Linked DNA regions of Homo sapiens: regions 2 and 3 are each linked to region 1. The links are contacts of gene promoters, found by promoter capture Hi-C in blood cells and fetal thymus (Javierre and others, 2016). All regions are on one chromosome and are shown on one strand. The core of a region is centred on a gene start or on the middle of the fragment in contact, and the rest is flanking DNA. Distances in the headings are between cores, read along the strand shown.

The links. The method cuts DNA at HindIII sites, captures the fragments that hold promoters and counts their contacts. A CHiCAGO score of 5 or more calls a contact.
Region 2: a fragment that was not itself captured here is called in contact with the fragment with the promoter of IL1F10 in region 1 in 4 of 17 cell types (M1 macrophages, M2 macrophages, M0 macrophages and 1 more); the score reaches 9.5 in M1 macrophages.
Region 3: a contact is called between the fragment with the promoter of CKAP2L here and the fragment with the promoter of IL1F10 in region 1, in 1 of 17 cell types (M1 macrophages). The highest score is 6.1, in M1 macrophages.

Annotation. Positions count from the first base shown.
Region 1 is chr2:113,065,432-113,070,118 of GRCh38, reverse strand. IL1F10 (interleukin 1 family member 10) reads right to left here and starts at 2,149. Exons shown (of 5, transcript NM_173161.3): 1 at 2,103-2,149. The HindIII fragment of the contact is 1,248 bases long and covers 1,802-3,049 here.
Region 2 is chr2:112,742,134-112,746,820 of GRCh38, reverse strand. It overlaps CKAP2L (cytoskeleton associated protein 2 like), which reads left to right. Exons shown (of 9, transcript NM_152515.5): 6 at 246-401; 7 at 4,052-4,115. It also overlaps a transcript of NT5DC4 not described here. Among named protein-coding and RNA genes, the nearest start is that of CKAP2L, 20 kb to the left of the region's middle. The HindIII fragment of the contact is 823 bases long and covers 1,987-2,809 here.
Region 3 is chr2:112,762,784-112,767,470 of GRCh38, reverse strand. CKAP2L (cytoskeleton associated protein 2 like) reads left to right here and starts at 2,862. Exons shown (of 9, transcript NM_152515.5): 1 at 2,862-2,909. The coding sequence starts at 2,873. RefSeq lists a silencer at 2,483-2,642 and an enhancer at 3,093-3,232. The HindIII fragment of the contact is 4,243 bases long and covers 1-3,575 here.

The sequences.
Region 1 (4,687 bases), core at 900-3,399:
TTCTTCCTCTCATTTCTCCCTGGACATGGCATCTGGCTCTCAGACCTCCGCAATTCACCTGTCCTGGCTCAAACACTGCCATCAGCTAAACTTGGGCTTTCCCCATGTTCTTTTGCACAGCACCCTGTCCTATCCTTCATCATTCTCCTGCACAGTATCTATGTGGGATGTTCTGTCCAAGACCAATATTAACTTCTGTGGAGCAAGATCCAGAGATTCTTTTGATTCCTTTGATATTTAGTCATTGCCTCCTTGGAACCCTTGACATTGAATGACTCCCTTCACACCTCTTTCTCCCACTGTAGATTTCACCTCCTTCTGGGGCCACCCCTAAGGCTAACAAGGTCCTAAGCACTTCTATTTCACATCATATTAAGCTGCAATTCATTGACTTCTACAGCTGCAATGATTATCTTGGGCTAATGGCTCCCAAATGTAGACTGCACATCCCACTTTACCTCCTGCAGCCTACAGGACAGCCCACTTTGGACATCCTGCTGATATCCAACCAAATATATTTAAGGTTAAGTTAATTATCTTCTCCTCCCAGCCCACACATTCCTCCCAATTTCATTTCTCTCACTGTCATAATATTCCTCTCACCAGTGATATTCAAAACCTGAGACTCATTGACAATATCTCCTACTTCTCCTGACTCAGTGTCTAACTTATCAAGTCCCTACAGGTTATTTCTTTAAAATATAACTTTGTGTTTTTAATTGCCATTACTACTGTACTTGTATTCCCGGTTTTTCTGCCTTTCATTCATTCCAACCTATGTGAGGAATGTGGACCCACGTTCTAAAGATTTTTTTCACCACATCCCTGCCCAGCTCTAGAATCTACAGTGACTGACTGTTTTGTCACCGTCTGGCACTGATTTTCTTGTGTGATAGCATCTCACTTCTCCATGGACACTAAACCACACCTCCTGGCGACATAATTCCTTTCTTATCTTCTCAGTGGACGTACTCACAGGTGTCCCATTGTTCTCCCTGCCTCAAAAGTCATCCCTTCTCATTGTCATCCATTCAGATCTTTTGATATTAAGATCACTGGAGATAGTATCAGTATAGATGGGTTCAGTATCTAGTTCTATCAAATTAATTACCAGTGTAGAGTTACAGCTTAGACATACAGGGTTATGTCTTTTAACCTCCAACCCTCAGTTTCAGCACTATACATTCATGGGATTAGATTATGTGGTTATGAAGGTTCTTTCTAGGCCAAACTATTTATAATTCCATGACTCAGAGTTTAATGAATCTTTCCCTTACTATTGTAACTCTACTCTGAACTCCTATTAAATTTTACTGTATTATTTATTGTTGTACATAAAGATATTTGTTTCCCTTATAAAAGTTTATAAGATCTTGAAGTCATGAAGCATGGCTTACAGCTCACTTGAAGCTCTCTCCAACCACCCTAATTGAACTACCCTGGTCCTTGTGGCCAGGACATAGAAACACACAGAGCAGACTTTGAATAGAAAGGCTGAGTCCTAGACCTAGCTCTGCTACCAATTTATTTTGCCACCTTTTATCCCTGGGCCTTCAACTTATCAACATTGGATGGAAAGATTGAGTAAGGTATCTTTCAAAACTGTTTTAAGTTTCACAATAAAATTTTATGCAGAATTCTAATGATTGTAAAAAGGATAAAGGGCAGCTGCTTTGCTGACACAGGAAGCAATGGAGACTTTGGAACCCTGCTAGTATTTCTCTTGCCTACAAAGAAGACACTGAGGAGCTACCAAGGAGCACAAAAAAAAAAAAAACGAAAACAAAAAATCTCTTAAGCTTCCACCAAACACGGTTTGAATACCATTGGCCCAGATGGTTTCTTTTGAGATTACTTTCTAAAGTCAGTTGTTCTAAGTAGTTCAGAAATCTTGATTTGGCTTAACCTATTCCTTCTCCTCAAATCTCTTTATGTGCTCCTAAATGTTTTTGATGTCCCATCATGTCATATGAGGGGACTACCTTGTTACCTAGACAGCTTGCCAGGAGGAGTGAAGGGATAGAGGGCATACCAGAGATATTGACAGGAGAGAGTAGAAAAGAAAGAAAAGAGAGAGAGAATATTGCCTGTCCATCACTGACCTGCAGATCCTGAGTTCCTGGAACCCTGATCCCTGGAGACTCCAACTGATTTCTCCAGGGCATTGCGCTGTGTTTATACCGTCTGGTACAGGTGGGTCAGGCCTGCACCAATCTCTATAATTGGCTGCAGGACATGAAGGAAGAAGAGCCTGGGCATTTCACAATGTCTTTGGTACAGCATGAATAATAAGATGGTGGGAACATTAAGGAGCATTTGTTGAAGGGGGAGAGAGTCATCCATAAAGCCTTGGCAGAAATAAGGTATGGGGCCCCTGCTCTGTACTGACTGTCGTTGACTATGTTATTAGTGGGTTTGCAGCCAGATAAACAGTGCTGGGGTCAGACATCTTTGGTGCCCCGTGGGGCTCCATCCTAGGCTTGAAGAGGTGGTGAATACAAGAGAAAGTATGTCTGGCAAGCCCAAGGACAGAACAAATTCTGATGCCGGAATCCAGGCTGTGGCCAGACAGCCAGAATAAGAGAAGGGGCTGATAGCACTGTGAGTGTGACTCTGTTTGGAAAGACGAGAAGGGAGTCTCTGCTTTTCAGTGGGTTTAATTAGTTGGTACCAGCTTGATGGGACAGAACATCTAGGGAAACCCAACTGCAAAGATATTGACCTCAGATTCACCCTGAGACTGAGCAGACATCATGTGCCATGGACTGCTAGGAAATATGATAGTGTGAGTAGAGCACAGAGGAAAGAACACTCAGGTCTCTAATTGACATTACTTGACTCAGTCCATCCATCCATCCATCCACCCGGCCACCCATCTGTCCATCTATCTACCCATCTGTCCATTCTTCCATCCATCCATCATCCATCCAACCATCCATCCACCCATGTGCCCATCCATCCACCCTTCTGTCCACCCTTTCATCCATCCATTCATCCATCCATCCATCCATCCATCCATCCATCCCTCCATTACAAGCGTGGAGAAGCTTAGGTGTAATGTTCTCTGGAAACTAACAACCTTATTATAATTCTCCCTCTTTGGTCATTTGCAAAGTTCCACCAAGGGCTTCTTGAGGAAGTGGGATAGGTGGGTCTAAGACTCAGATGCCTGCAGGATGAGAAATGAGAAAAGATGGGCAGAAATGGGACCAGATTTCTGCTTTCTAAGGCCAGTGATCATTCTTCTTCCACTCTCCCAATCTCTCACCCTTCTATGGGAAGGCTTAAAGCATGAGTTACTATGTCAGGCAACCAATGAGTGTTTACCCAGCATTTACACTGCTGTGTGACACAGACATTCAATACACAGTCCTTGTTGTTAAGTAGTTTCACAGTCTAGCTGAGGAACTAAGTCATAAACACTTGAAAAGATAATTAAGAAGACCAGACTCTCTAAGCTGTGGGCCAAGGACATGTTGGAAACAATAGTGGCAGATAAGCTCCTTGGGCAAAAAAAAAATCTTAGAATTGAAAGGACTTTAGGCCAGGCATGGTGGCTCATGCCTGTATCCCAACACTTTGGGAGGCTAAGGCAGGCAGATCCCTTGAGGTCAGGAGTTCAAACCAGCCTGGCCAACATGGTGAAACCTCGTGTCTACTAAAAATAGAAAAATTAGCCAGGCATGGTGGCATGCACCTGTAGGCCCAGCTACTTAGGAGGCTGAGGCAGGGGAATCACTGGAACCTGGGAGGCAGAGGTTGCAGTGGGCCAAGATGGCACCACTGTACTCCAGCCTGGGCGACAGAGTGAAACTCCATCTCATAGACATGGAATCATAGTTTCCCTCCAATTGGAGAAATCTGTGCTATGGCATCCCTGAGAAATTGGTTAATTAGGCTCTGCCTTAACATCTCCAGGGTCAGGGACCACACAACCTCTTGAAGAAACCCTATCAATGTTTGTGGTCCTTGTGGTTAAAATATGGGGGTCATATAGGAAAAACAGCCTCCACATAATTTGCACCCATTGGTTCTGCTTGTGTGTTCTGGAATTACACAGAACAAGCACATTCTTCTACTTGGCAAGCCTTTAAGTGCTTGAAGAGGGCTCCCTGTGCATTGCTTTTTTCAGGATAATACCTCCCACATCGTAGCCTCTTCCCTACAGCCTGCCCTTGGAACATTCTCTGTTCCTCGATGTCTGCAATTTGTACAAACCCCACATGATGTGAGTATTGCATCTCTGTAAATACAGGTCCAGGCCAGTGATTTATACCAAAATTGCAGAAATCTAAAGCCACTAACTCTTTTTCACTTGTAGAGTCATGATGTCCAGCCTGTACATTCCTGAAGGAGGCATTTTATATTCCTTCTTTTACTACTGACTTGTGTCGGCTCATCATGGCTAAAGCTCTTCTGAGTTCTGTCATCCTACAAATGAGGAAGCAACAAATTCAGGCTGGAGAAACCTTCAAGAATGAGGTGGAATTTAAGCTGCTCCCTTAGAGGTGGGCCTGTTTAGATGGGTGGAGGAGAAGGAGAGAATATTCCAGGGTGGAGAAATAGTTTCTACATTATATACTCATTGGGTTTCCATTATGTGCCAAGCATTATGCAAGGTGCTAAGAGACAAACTTATATGTCCCTAACCTTAAGGTCATCCCAGGGGCCACAGACTCCAAGTTAA
Region 2 (4,687 bases), core at 1,149-3,648, 320 kb after region 1:
GCAAGACTCCATCTCAAAAAAAAAATAATAATTATTATTAATCTCAAATCATTAAAATGGATAATTAAAACAGGTGCATTTTATTACATGTACATTGTACCTCAGTAAAATTGAAATTTTTTTAAAAGTTCAAAAATATTAGTGATCAAACCAATTTCTGCATACCTGCTGTAATAAATATTAGGAGATGTGAGACTAACAGTGAAATGGTAATAATTACCTCTGGATATTTTGGTTTATTTCAGGGTGTACCTTCTAATGAAATACTTAACATATTGTCCAGCATTCCTGAAGCTGAAAAATTTGCTAAATTCTGGATCTGCAAAGCAAAGTTGTTGGCAAGTAAAGGCACCTTTGATGTTATTGGGCTATATGAAGAGGCCATTAAAAATGGGGCAACAGTGAGTATCTGTCTTGGGTGGGTAACTTCTTAAAATTCTCTTTCATGTGAGTTCTCTGTTGTTGTTTGTAATATGATGGTTAGAAGTTTGCAACATCAATATCCAACACTTATAAAGTCATACCTTACCATAAAGAACTTAAAAATATATTAAACCCAATACGTCAGCATCCTTAAATCAATAATTCAGAGCCATTGCATGAAATAACTTTTAATTCTAAAATTTAGAAAAAAAAACTATATAATTATTATTTACAAAAACTGCATCAAATAGTTTTATAATGCTTTTCCTTAAAATGTCATTTTCCATGTCATGTTCTGTATTCTGTGTGATACCTTTTTCCATAATGGTTCAAAATCAGAATTGTACATGCACATAGTTTAAGCAGTCAAGTAGTTTGATAAGTTTCGTTCAGTAAGACCTCTGCCTTCCTTCCCTCCCATTTTCCCCTTCCTAGAGCAAACTGATTTATTTTTATATTAACCTCTATAGTTTCAGAAAACGTGTTTCTGTTTCTTGATTTTTCAGTTTTAGATATGATTTATGGACTTCCAGCTATGCAGAGTGAAGATTTAGCCCTCTTTCACACATACATACACAGATCCCCAGCACACACAAATACACACCCCTATTTACCATCCTTATAGACCTTTGCCATTCCTTATACTTTCATTAGAGTCATGGAAATTCTGGTCACTATTTAGCATTCACATTGTTATGAATATATAAGAAATATATGGGCTGGGCACGGTGTTTCACGCCTGTAATCCCAGCACTTGGGGAGGCCGAGGCAGGTGGATCACAAGGTCAGGAGATCGAGACCATTTTGGCTAACATGGTGAAACCCCATCTCTACTAAAAAATACAAAAAAGTTAGCCGGGCGTGGTGGCGGGCACCTGTAGTCCCAGCTACTCGGGAGGCTGAGGCAGGAGAATGGCATGAACCTGGGAGGCAGAGCTTGCAGTGAGCCGAGATCGGGCCACTGCACTCCAGCCTGGGCAACAGTGCAAGACTGTCTCAAAAAAAAAAAAAAATACATGAATATGTTGAGCCATGCAATATATACTATGATTACTTTGCCTTTCAAGCACAACTTTCTACTTTTCCTGGAGTTATTGTCTTGTTTTGCCTTTGCTTAGTTTTCTGAGTATTTATTATATAATTAATTCACAAACTCTTCGCTAATTGTCTAAGTTCCTCAATACTTTGAAAACATCAGATATTCTATTGATTCCTTTTTCTTAGATAAAGAGCTTTCTCCTAGACCCTTCTGGCTTATTCCAGACTGAACAAGTTACTTTTTACTGCCGTCTTCACCAGCTGTCTTTCTGGGATCTCTTTACCATCACCTTTAGATTCCCTTTACATCCTTCTTAAGTTGGGTGGATCCCTTGTTTTTAGAACCCATATTAGTTTTCTTCTTCCTACATTGTCTATTTCTTCTCCAATGTTTTTCATTTCTTTCTCTCTTGTTATTGTTTGTTTGTTCTTTTTGTTTTGTTCTCTATTATTCTTTAAAGGCTTTACACAGATGCTGGTGAAACTGGGCTGTTTGCACATATAAAAGGTGGGTCTGAAAAAGCTTATTTAAAGCCCGAGACACATGGATGGGGCTTCAACACAGGGTGATCTGGCTGAGTTGACTAGTTAGAAAACCCTCAATATCAGTATCTTTAGGTCTTTCCTCTTAAGCTGGTCAAGTTATCTGGAGAAATCTGTTCCAATCTCCTTCCTGGGAGCTAGACACCAGGCTGCCAGTGCTGTGGGAGAGAAGAGAGCAGGGAGTCTCAACCCTCAACATAGAAACTTTTGCTTATCTCCTTTTCTCAGAAAGCACCCTATCCTAATCTTGCATGATATCCCTCAGAGACTTGCAGAATACATTCCCAGTTTTCTGTTAGGATGAAGGGAGTCAGACACAGTTACTAGGCTGCATAGAGTTTAGGGGTGCAGGATGGATTTGGAGGTCTGACTGCTTTTTGAACAGATGCTAAAGAGTCCTCCTAATTTGGGCCCTACCACCCATTCCTTAGCCTTTCTGTCAGGTTGTTTCTTAGCCACACTGCCAGCTTGGGATTCAACTCTCTCAAGTAGATCAAATTGTTTACCTCTCTTCCTTCTGCACTGCAGCTTCCAAAACCTTATTGTCATTTCTTCTCTCCTATGTTTTGTGGTTATTGCCTCTTCTTAATCCCTTTATTATCCTTTCAGTCGATTTTCAAGAGAGATTAGAAATAAACGTATATTTAATCCACCATCATTAACCAGAAGGCTATACAAATATAAAATATGCTTGATGAATGTTGTATAGAATTCACTCTTTGTAATATATTCTATACATTTATTCCCATTCATTTAGCTGAAATCATAATTCTATTTTGGATTTTGAAAAAATGTACGGAAAGCTTTGCTTTTATGCTTTATTGTCAGTTTATATCTATTTGATACAGAGTTCCAGGTAAGGAAGACAAACCTCCAACTATAATTTTCTTGTGGGAAAGTGCAGCTTCTGCTTCATGGCATGGTTTACATACTTGAAAAATAAAGCCTATCTCAGATAATTTTATCAGAAAATTACTTTTCCATGAAGGTTTTTTTTTCTAAGTATGTTAACAAATAAAAGAAGAAAGACAGGAAAAGCTGGAGAAAATTACTCAAAATGCCTACAAAGATTGTATCTGGGCCAGGCACAGTGGCTTACCCCTGTAATCTCAGCACTTTGGGAGGCTGAGGCAGGCGGATCACTTGAGATCAGGAGTTTGAGACCAGCCTGGCCAACGTAGCGAAACCCCGTCTCTACTAAAAATAGAAAAATTAGCCAGATGGGGTGGCGCATGCCTGTAATCCCAGCTCTTCGGGAGGCTGAGGCAGGAGAATCACTTGAACCCTGGAAGTGGAGTTTGTGGTGAGCCGATACCGCACCATTGCACTCCAGCTTGGGTGACAGAGACTCCATCTCAAAAAACATTGTGTTTGGGGCCAGGTACAGTGGCTCACTCGTGTAATCCCAGCAGTTTGGGAGGCCGAGGCGGGTGGATCACGATGTCAGGAGATCGAGACCATCCTGGCTAACACGGTAAAACCCCATCTCTACTAAAAATACAAAAAATTAGCTGGGCGTGGTGGTGGGCGCCTGTAGTCCCAGCTACTTGGGAGGCTGAGGCAGGAGAATGGCATGAACCCAGGAGGCAGAGCTTGCAATGAGCCGAGATCGCGCCACTGCACTCCAGCCTGGGACAGAGTAAGACTCTGTCTCAAGAAAATATATCTATATCTATATATAAAATGCATTTTCTGTGTGGCTAGCTTTACATCATTGGGCCAGAATTTTTATGTAGGAATACATATTTGACAGTATTATACAAATCAATAGGAAAATAGAATTTGATGTAGACAAATTACATTATGGACAACTTTAAATACATCTGTTCATTAAGTCGAGTGTGCCAACACTTAATCAGAATTTTCTCTGTTCCTTTACTTTTCTCATGAAGCTATAAAACTGTCAAGCTAGACAAAAGATTTATAGTTAGACGAGATTTTAAAAGGAAACTTTTATTATAAAACATGTATTTGAAGTTAAAGTTCCTTAGCAAATTTTTTGCATGAATGTTTTTAAGATTTTGTATGTTTTCTTCCTTCCTTCCAGCCAATACAAGAGTTGCGGAAAGTTGTTCTTAATATCTTGCAAGACTCAAACAGAACCACAGAAGGTACTATTATTTTTGAATTTAAATTCATCTTCTCTAGCTGTACCAGTAAAAATCATCCAGGACATATAGGAAAAAGAAGAAAAGAATCATCCCCTGAAATGCTTCTCACTTCTTGGTTTCCATGACCTGGCCCTTTCAGCCATTGTCATCAGCTGACTTATTTGTATTATTACAAGTAAATGCACTACTCAATACTGAACAAAGGTTGTTTCCACCAAAACAGCCTAGACTGGAGTGTCCCACTTCCTTGGAATCCTAGATGGCAGAAGACAAACAGCTCTTTGCTGGAAGAGACTGAGGCAGAAAGGAGAAATGCCTTAAGTTACATGTTTAATCATAATAAACCCACCAACATACTCATCTAAATTTGTGTTACGCTTTAAAAATAGCTATCTCAGGAATCTCTTCAATTGGATGACCATCACTGTCAGTGGTCATAACCTTTAGAAGACTCTTCTATGAGACATATATTGTGCCAAACACGAGTGACATTATAATTGCTTACGATACTTGTTATATGAATGGAAAGAAAAAACAAGCTATCTTTAGAAAATAAATTGGATTCTTCTTGT
Region 3 (4,687 bases), core at 1,613-4,112, 300 kb after region 1:
GGAGTATGGAAAGGAAAAAACAAAGTGTCTGGATAACACTGAGCAAGGGGAGAGTAGTGTGGGCTAAGGCTAAGGGAGGTGGCTAATGCTGAGGGAGTAAAAGGCCAAGCCCGCAGGGGCTTATAGGTCATTAGCCTGAGAGCAATGGAAAACCGTTAAAAGCCACCAGGATTGTCCTGGTGTGGTGGCTCACACCTGTAATCCCAACACTTTAGGAGATGGAGGCAGATGGATCGCTTGAGCCAGGAGTTCAAGACCAACCTGGGGCAACATGGCAAAACCCCATCTCTACAAAAAATACAAAAATTACCCAGATGGGTGACTGAAGTGGGATGATCGCTTAAGCCAGAGAGGTGGGGGCTGCAGTGAGCTGAGATCATGCCACTGCACTCTAGCCGGGCAATGGAGCCAGATCCTTCTAAAAAAAACAACACCAGGATCATGGAAAGCTACAGTGGATACTTTGATGAATGAGTTAAGAATTTAATTTATTTATTTATTTGGAGACAGGGTCTTGCTCTGCCTCCCATGCTGGAGTGCGGTGGCATGACCACAGTGCACTGCAGCCTTCAACTTTTGGGCTCAAGTGATCCTCCCACCTCAGCCTCCTGAGTAGAAGGGACTACAGGTGTGTGCCACCATGCCTGGTTAATTTTTGTAATTTTTTTTTTTTTTTTAAGAAACGAGGTCTTGCTATGTTGCCCAGTCTGGTCTCAAACTCCTAGGCTCAAGCAATCCTCTTGCCTCAGCTTCACAAAGTGCTGGGATTGATTACAGACATAAGCCACCATGCTTGGTAGAGTTGAGAATTTTTAAACCTGCCTAGCTATTTTCCCACATTTTGTGTCCTACAAAATAGACCGTCAAATACCCAAAGGATGGAAAAAAACGAGGCAGAACTGGCCTATGTTGCTCCAAAGGACTAGGACCAGTAAGCAAGGAAGCTCATTTGAGTTCATTTTAAGTTTCCTAATAAGCAGGGGTCTCCAATAACAGGACAGGTAAGGCAGCTCACCAACACCAGCAGTATACCTGCAAAGGTGCAGTACCTACATGGGGTCTGTGGAATACTCCAGCACTGCGTGGGATATCAGGCAAGGTGACTTCTACAACTGACATGCATTCAACCACCTAGATTCTACAAAGACCAAAACAAAACCGCCTTCACTTTTCTGAAACTGTTGGTGAAGGAGTCCCTTTCTCAGTCATTAACAAAAATAATGATCAGTTTTCCTATTTTAAACATTTAATACACTATTGAAAATATCAAAATGCATAAATCCAGAAACCCTGGCTCTCTTCCAAACTCCCTATTTACGGCTAAAGAGAAGGGCTGCTGCAGTGGCTTCATGCCCTGCTGAGTACCCAACTGGTAAGCTGAACCTGGCCAACAGGTGCCCAGATATGACTGCCCCTCCACACACGACTTCTCCAGCATCCATGGAAGAGGAACCTTCATACACAAGGAGCCAAAAGCATTTTCCAGACCTCTTTAAGAAACTGGAGAATAGATGAAACAGGACAAACTTCAAAAGAAAAAAAATTTAGGATTAAAACAAGGGGAATGAAGTGTGTCTAGGGATTCAGGACAACGAGGCCTGCGATCTCCTAGTAACTAGGAGAAACTAGGCCTGCGTTTCTCCGTTAGCCTTATGGCCTTATAGTCAGCTGATCAGGTGAAATCGAAAATATACCTTGAACAAGAGATCACCGTGAGAGGAGTAAGGCAGTTTCTCAAAAAATTAAAAATAGAATTGCCGTTTGATCCAACAATACCACTTCGTGGTATATACCCAAAAGAATGAAAAGGAGAGTCTCAAAGAGTTATTTGTGCATTCATGTTCATATTATTATTCACAATAGCCAAAAAGTGGAAGCAACTCAAGTGTCCGGAGAGGGATGGACCAAGAAGCAAAATGTGGCATCTCCACACAACGAAATGCTATTCCCCCTTAAAAGGAAAGGAAATTCTGACACATGCTACACATGGATGAACCTTGAATACTTTATGCTAAGTGAAACAAGCCAGTCACAGAACAAATACTGCATGATTCTACTTATATGGCACCTACAGTTGTCAAATCCATAGAGACAGAAACTAGAATGGTGATTGCCTGGGGCTGGGGGAGGGAGGAGTGCGGAGTTAGTGACGGGTACAGGGTTTCATTTGGGAAGATGAAAAAGTTCTGGAAAGGACAGTAGTGGTGGCTGTGCCACAATGTGAGGGTACTTAATACCACTAAACTGCACATTTTTGAAAAATTTAACACTTTAAAATGGTTAAAATGGTATATGTGATGTTATGCATATTTTACCACAATTAAACGAGCCACCCTGCAGTACTAAGAACTAGGAGCCTTTAGATGCATAAGACCCATATGTCCTCTTTATAATATTATTTTTTCACAGCTCCTGTGAGTCTGAGACTTTGAAAGGACAGAATCAGGTAGCGGCCCCAGCATCCTGGGAGGACCGCCCTGTCTCTCCGCCCAGGGACTCCCGGCGCGCCAACCCCAGCTGGATTCAGCGTAACCGCCCCCCAACCACCAGCCCGGCTGAGGCCCCCACGGAGGGTCCCACGCCCACTCGGAGGCGCACTCACAGGCGCACTCAGAGGCGGGCGGCGCCGCGCCCCGAGGAAGCCGCCCTCAATGCCGAGGTGCGCTGCACGTTCTTCCAATCAAAGGGCCCCAAGGTCGGGTTCTCAAGGCCAGAGCCAACCGCAAAGAGCCTATTGCCTGTTGTCCCGCCCTCCCGTGCTGACGACTAGCGAGTTTCAAACCCGCAGGAGCCAATGAGGACGCGTGGACGCGCGGCACGCCGGTCCTGGCTACAGGCGCGGCGTTTGAAGAAAAACTGTCACTGAAGAGTCATGGTGGGGCCCGGGCCTACCGCTGCTGCCGCTGTCGGTGAGTACGACCGCTGTTCCCGTTATTCTCAGGCGTTGGAACACGGCCGGGGAAGTAGGAGGCCACCGAGTGAGTTCGTCCCGCGGGAGGTGCCCGTCCGCTCGCCTGCCTAAGTTTCCCCTGGGCGTTTTCCATCCCGGGAGCGCAGACGGGACCCCCAGGTAGACGTCTGGGTCCTGGGCGGGGGAGGCTGTGCGCAGGCCCAGATACCTCACGGGCGTATTTCCAGAAAGCCCTGCAGCAGCCTTGCAAAGAGATGTCATTGTCACCACGTTCCGGATAAAGAAACTGAGGCCCCTTGCTCGGGTTTTCACCAGCAGTGGGAAGCTGCGCGCTGTTTTGATCCACATTTGGCTCCAGGCAGAGCCGGGCGTGGTCCTCTGTGCCAGGAGGCGGGGTCTGGCCGAAGCCCGGGTCTCCTGCCTCTGGCGGGGCTCTCACTCCACACCTCTCAGCCTGCGGTGGTTAGAAGTTGATTGGTTAAATCTGCACCCAGGGCTAAGGCTTCTGCGTTCCCTAATCTCTTAGATGTGCTTGGAGCCCTTTCCTACCTTTCAAAATACTCCTGCTCAGATGCCACTTTCTCCAAGATACGCACCGTTGTTTTGTTTCATCCATTATTCCTGTTGATGCCTACGAGGTCCTAGGCACTTTACATAACAAGCTTTAAAGATGGCATTTCTGTCCGCCTTATAGGCTTAGCAGCAGCAAAGTTTGCTAATTTGCTAGAAGTCACGGAGGTGGGACTCCAACCCCCTATGTCAGCCCCTACGCTCTACATTGCCCGCCAAGCTGTCTCTAAGGATAGATACATGAGCATCAGAGAGCAAAACAGGGCAACTCCGTTCAGATGAGGTTAAGAGTCGTTTGGCACCCCTGTCGTCTTTTTGTCTTCCTTCACATCATTATTTACTTTTAACCTTTTCTAGCCACCTACTCCCCTCATTTATGCCCTACCTCTGAACTCCCATACTTCTTTTCGTCTCTTATGGCCCTTAGATTTTACCTTATACTGTAATTGTTGCTGTGTTGATTTTATCTCCACTACTAGTTTGAAAGTTCTTGAAGGCAGAAATTATTGACTTGTCATCCCCTCACAAATGGCTTGCGTAGAAAGTCACCATAGTATAGGTGTCTGCCGTGAGCAGACCGGGCGTATTTTATCCTTAGTACCAACAAAGGAAGCCATATAAGGGTTTGTGGGTAAAAATCATCATCCCTGTAAAAAAACAAAAGACGTAAGACCAGGCCTGGCTCACCAGCTCAGGTGGGCCAGTAACAGAAATTCTTCAAAACAGACTGTTGTAGCTGAGAACAGTGGCTGTGAGCTCCAGGGTTAGAAAAGCCTGTTTTCAAGTCCTGGAATTGCCACATATTAGCTGGGTAACTTTGGGCATGACATTTACTCTCTCTGAATTTCAGATTGCAAAAACTCATTGGATTGTTTTGTGGATTGAAAGCAATAATGTAAATTTAGGCCGAGTGCTTTGACTTACGCCTGTAATCCTAGCACTTTGGGAGGCCAAAGCAGGAGGGTCACTTGAGCTCAGGAATTTGAGACCACCCCTGGCAACATAGTGAGATCCTGTCTCTACAAAAAATTTTTTTAAAATTATCCAGCATGGTGGTACACGCCTGTATTCCCAGCTACTCAGGAGACTGAGGTGTGAGGATTGCTAGAACCTGGGAGATCAAGTCAACAGTGAGCCGTGGTTGTGCCACTGCCCTCCAACCTCAGTGACAGAGGAAGACCCTGTCTCAAAAAAAAAAAAAAAAGT